Regions from separate parts of the Homo sapiens genome. Here region 2 is linked to region 1. The links are contacts of gene promoters, found by promoter capture Hi-C in human tissues and cell types (Jung and others, 2019). All regions are on one chromosome and are shown on one strand. The core of a region is centred on a gene start or on the middle of the fragment in contact, and the rest is flanking DNA. Distances in the headings are between cores, read along the strand shown.

Region 1 (2,725 bases), core at 153-2,652:
TTGTTTGTTTGTTTTTTTGCGACAGGGTCTCCCTCTGTAGCTCAAGCTGGCGTGCAGGCTGCAGTGCACAGGGGGCTGAGCAGATTAGACTCTACATGGCCCCAACACCCCCCGTGGGTGGCCCTGGTGCCCCTTCCCTGGCAGAGAGGAGGGGAGAGAATGTGATGGTCTGAACAGAGTGGGAAGGAGCGGCATGCCTGGAGAGATGGGGCAATGGGGGGACCCCAGCACACCCCCGCTGCCCTGCCCTCCCCTCTCTGAAACATCAGTTCAGAGCCTCGGCTGACAGGCCCCGAGGGACTCTAGTCCGAGCAGTGGAAGCCAAACGCTTTGCACATGGGACTTCAAACTCTCACCCCAGAGGGCATCTTAGTGGCTGTCTACATCCACTGAATTTTGGGGTGAGAAGATGGAGGGCCACAGAAGTGGGCTTGTTCGGGTGTCATGGTGTCATGGTGACCTTCCTCTTGTGCTTGAAGCTGCAGGATGGGGCTGACCTGCCCCTCCTTGGACCACTGAGCATGGTATGCACTTGTCCAACGCACCACCCCCAGAATCACAAGTTCCAGGGGTTAACATCTGTTGGGTGATGCCCCAGGGGTGGAAGTCAAATGTCGAATTCTGGGGTCCAAGTGAAATGCAGAAGTTACAGAAAGAGCTGGGGCAGGCCCAGCACCAGAAAAGTGGTGGAAGCTTCTGGAATCTCCTCTCCTTGGTGTCTCTGGGGAGTGCCTTGACAGACAGCAGCTAAGACAGAGCCACTGGCCTGAGGCCCTGCGTCCCCGCTGGGCCTGTCTGGAGCCTTTTCCTTCCTGTGATCCTGCAAACCTTCCTAGTTCTCATGGACACAGTCACCTGACAAATGCCTGTGAACAGACTGCCAATCTAGGCAGGACCCTCCTGAAGAGCGGTGCATTCTCTAGGGCCTCAGGGCTCCTTTTAGGGAGGAGCCTGAGTTAACTTTAATTCAGGATTCTGCAGGGCACAGTTGGCAAACTCCGGCCCTGAGGGCCAAATCTGGCCCACTGCCTGTTTTTGTAAATAAAGTTTTATTGGCACACAGCCACACCCATTTGGTTGCATATCATTTATGGCTGCTTTTGCGATACAATGGCAGAATTGAGTGGTTGTTCCAGAGACTGCCTGGACCACAAACCCCCAAAAATGTATAATTTGGCCTTTTCTGGAAACAGTTTGCTAACCATGCTTCTAGAGTGTCCCCAAGCTGATGATCTGTGTTGCTACTTGGCTGGTCAGCCGTGCTTTCAAACTTTGTTCTTAGATAATTGAAATCATAAGAAGCATTTCCTCTGTTGTGCCCGCATCTGAGGGTATGGCACTCACTAGCAGATGGTTCCTCCAGTCCAGAGCCCTTTGTTTCTGTCTGCATTTCTACCTGAGCTCCACCCAGCAGGTGCGGGGTGCTCACTGGTTCCCCAAATGCTTGCTGAATTTCTGAATGAACGAAAGATCACCAGCTTTCTTGGCTTTCTGCAAAACTATCTGCAGTAAATGATTTTTTTAAAATTGCACAGCTTCTGGAAAAGTCTTTTGGCTAAGAAACTGAAGCTTACAACAAGGAACAGCAGCCACAGAAAAGGATGCATCCTTCAGAGATTGTTCTGGATTGCTGAGTGCTAACTGCGCCCCGGTTTGCACGGTGCTGCGGTGCTTGTCATTACCTGCTGGGGTACCTGCTGAACTCTGGGGAGGGAGATCGGCTGCATCTGGGCCCCTTTGGGATTGGAGCTGGCTGCCTGGACCAACACCCTCTAAAAGGGAAGGGAGAGAAGGCCAGTTAGACTTGTCAGAGGTCAGTGCTGAGGATACACACAGAATGTAAGATGCTGTTTGTCTGTTCATGTGCTTTTTATTAAAACATAGGCAGGACTGATCAGAGGCGACGGCGGGGTGATGGTCAGACTTGCACACTCACACCGACCTGGGCAGACACACGGCAGGTACGTGCAGGCACACAAACAATGCACATACATACACAAGTGTGCACATACACTCAGCCCATGCACCACACATATGCACGAATTGTGGGCACACACACACGTATGCACACACACATACACGGAAGCACATGCACCTTCACCCGCCCAGGCAGCTTTGCCTCTGTGGGTCTGTAGTCTGCAGCAAGGTGACACTGATCGTCCCTAGTACAGAGGGGACTGCTGGGGCCCTCTGGATAGCCATCCGCACCACTGCGTGGGAGAGCACTCTGTGGCGCCCCTCGCTTCTGCAGTATAACCCGGACTTGTTTCCATTTTCTGATGAGGTTAATGAAGCCAGAGGGCTCAAGTGCTGCCTCTGGCTACAGAATACTCGAGTCCAGGTGCCCTGTGTCTGGGTCCCTCGCTCTCTGACCCCACTGCTCTCCAGCCTCCTAAGTCAAATCTGCACAGTGTGGCTTTGCTATTTTTCTGGGAGTACCGATTGGCCACACAAAGCTATCAAAATGGGAAGGGTCAAAGTGAACTCGAGTCGAGGGAGGAACAGGAGTGTTTTGTGTGTTTATTGAGAGCTGGGGCTTTCGGAGTCATTGGCTGCAGTGCTGTGATTTCCCGGCATGAACCCTGAATGTCACAGGTAGCAGTGACTGCCATATATACATCACGAGGGGTGATGGGTGAGGACACGCCATCCCCTGTGTTGCAGGAGTGGAGCTAAGGATGAAGATGGTGCTAATAAGGATGCCAGCGCAAGGGCATTCTGATTC
Region 2 (2,725 bases), core at 86-2,585, 290 kb after region 1:
TTTTTTTTTTTTGAGACAGGGTCTCCCTCTGTCACCCAGGCTGGAGTGCAGTGGTATGACCTCAGCTCACTGCATCCTCCACTTCTTGGGTTCAAGAAATCCTCCCCCCTCAGCCTCCCAAGTAGCTGGAACTACAAGCACACACCACCACACCCAGCTAATTTTTAAAAACTTTTTGTAGAGACAGGGTCTTGCTATGTTGCCCAGGCTGGTCTGGAACTCCTGGGCTCAAGCGATCTTCCTGCCTCTGCGTTCCAAATTGCTGGGGTTACAGGCATGAGCCATGGTGCTAGGTACATCCATGATTTTTTAGCACTTCCCATGTGGTGTTTTAACAGGGAAAGAGAAGACCACCTCAGAATGTCCAGAACTGAGGAGTTTCTCAGGAGGTGGGACTTTTTTTCTTCTTTTTTTGAGACAGTCTCGCTTTTTCACCCAGGCTGGAGTGCAGTGGCACAATCTCAGCTCACTGCAACCTCCGCCTCCTGGGTTCAAGCGATTCTCATGCCGTAGCCTCCTGAGTAGCTTGGACTACAGATGCCTGACACCGTACCCAGCTAATTTTTTATTTTAGTAGAGATGGGCTTTCACCACGTTGCCCAGGGCGATCTCCAACTCCTGAGCTCAGGCAATCCACCCACCTTGGCCTTCCAAAGTGCTAGGATTACAGACGTGAGCCACCGCGCCCAGCCAAGAGGTGAAACTTTTTAAATACTGAAACCAGGATAGTCCCAGGCACACTGGGACAAGTTGGTCAGTGGGTACAGCTGCAAACAAGACAGACACAATCACCTCTTCCAGGAAGCCTTTCCTGATTGGCCCACCCCCTCTAGCTCAGGGGCACCCTCTGCCTCCCCCTACCACAGCTGCCTCTGTGCCCTCCAAGAAGGCACCATCGCTCCCGGTTGCAAATGCCTGCAGTCACATCAGAGTTAGCTTAGGGAAGGCAGAGACCGGTTCTTTTCCTGGCCACCAATGTGTCTCCAAAACCTACCACAGAGCTTGGCATCAAGTAAAGACAAGTAAATGAATGAAAGCTGGCACTCTTTGGCTAACAGATGAGAAAACTAGGGCTGAGACAGGTGAACCACTCCAGCAAGATTCCCCAGTAAGGCTGTATGGGGAGGAACCGGGATTCGAACCGGCATCTGGCGAGACTCCTTCACACACCCACGCACTCACCGTGTTGTAGAACTCGGCCACCAGCTCCGAGTACTGGAAGTTGCTCTCACACCAGTCCACCTCGGAGCTCTGATAGGCGAAGATGCTAGGCATCTTGTCTCAGTGGCCACCACCAGCCGGCTGCGCCCGGCAGAGAGAAGGCGAGCTTGGGAAGGCTGGGCCCTGATGAGGCGGGGAGAGGACAGCCCGGTGCCCCGCGGCAGGCAGACTGGGAGGAAAAACCTGCTGGGCCGCTCCCCAGTTGCACCAGGGCAGCCTGGCTGTGCAGTGACAGCAGCCCTGAGCATAAGCCGTGGGACTGGCACTGTCCAGGCAGGGCAGGGGGCAGAAGTAGGCAGGGAAGAGGCCTCCCATCCAGATTACCCAGGAATAGGAATCGGGGTGGGGGCAGTGGAGGGAACTGTTTTTATCTTTTATGTATGTATGTATTTATTTATTAGAGTCAGGGCCTTGCTCTGTTGCTCAGGCTGGGGTACAGTGGCATCATCATAGCTCACCGCAGCCTCAAACTCCCAGGCTCAAGCAATACTCCTGCCTCAGCCTCTGAAGTAGCCAGGACCACAGGCACATGCTGCCACCATGCCTAGCTAATTGTTTTTTTTTTTGGAGACAGAGTCGCTCTGTTGCCCAGGCTGGAGTGCAGTGGCATGATCTCAGCTCACTGCAAGCTCTGCCTCCCGTGTTCACGCCATTCTCCCGCCTCAGCCTCCCGAGTAGCTGGGACTACAGGCGCCCACCGCCACGACCGGCTAATTTTTTGTATTTTTAATAGAGATGGAGTTTCACTGTGTTAGCCAGGATGGTCTCGATCTCCTGACCTCGTGATCCACCTGCCTTGGCCTCCCAAAGTGCTGGGATTATAGGTGTGCGTGAGCCACCGTGCCCGGCCTTTTTTTTTAAAATTGAGATGCAGTCTGGCTCTGTCACCCAGGCTGGAGTGTAGTGGCGCAATGTCAGCTCACTGCAACCTCCACCTCCTGGGTTCAAGCGATTCTCCTACCTCAGCCTCCCAAGTAGCTGGGATGACTGGCACCTGCCACCATGCCCAGCTAATTTTTTTTGTATTTTAGTAGAGATAGGATTTCACCATGTTGGTCAAGCTGGTCTCGAACTCCTGACCTCAGGTGATCTGCCCACCTTGGCCTCCCAAGGTGCCGGGATTATACGCATGAGCCACCTCACCTGGCCTGAGTTCCTCTACTTTAAGCTGTGTGACCTTGGGCAAGTGAATTTACCTCTCTGATCCTCTGTTTGCTCACCTGTCATATGGAGACGATGGTGACAGAGCCAACTGTAACAAAGGAAGACAGAGATAAAGCATGTACAAAGGCTTAGCCCACTGCCTATGCTAGAGTAGGCACTTGATGGATGGTAATGGGTTTTCTTTTTTTTTTTGAGATGGAGTCTTGCTCTGTCCCAAAGTGCTGGGATTACAGGGTTTTCTTACTGAAGCTGACCTTGAACTTTAAGTCAACTTTGTGGGAATAATAATAATTATTATTATTATAATAAAAGAGCCTGGCCTTAGCAAGCGGTTAGCAAG

Evidence for each region. The method cuts DNA at HindIII sites, captures the fragments that hold promoters and counts their contacts. A contact is called where the count stands out against the background at its distance.
Region 2: a contact is called between the fragment with the promoter of ACER1 here and a fragment that was not itself captured in region 1, in 1 of the 25 tissues and cell types used here (dorsolateral prefrontal cortex).

The regions. Positions count from the first base shown.
Region 1 is chr19:6,042,511-6,045,235 of GRCh38, forward strand. It overlaps RFX2 (regulatory factor X2), which reads right to left. Exons shown (of 18, transcript NM_000635.4): 3 at 1,683-1,772. Among named protein-coding and RNA genes, the nearest start is that of RFX2-AS1, 19 kb to the right of the region's middle. The HindIII fragment of the contact is 4,983 bases long and covers 1-2,725 here.
Region 2 is chr19:6,332,277-6,335,001 of GRCh38, forward strand. It overlaps ACER1 (alkaline ceramidase 1), which reads right to left and starts at 1,336. Exons shown (of 6, transcript NM_133492.3): 1 at 1,183-1,336. The coding sequence starts at 1,275. The HindIII fragment of the contact is 13,348 bases long and covers 1-2,725 here.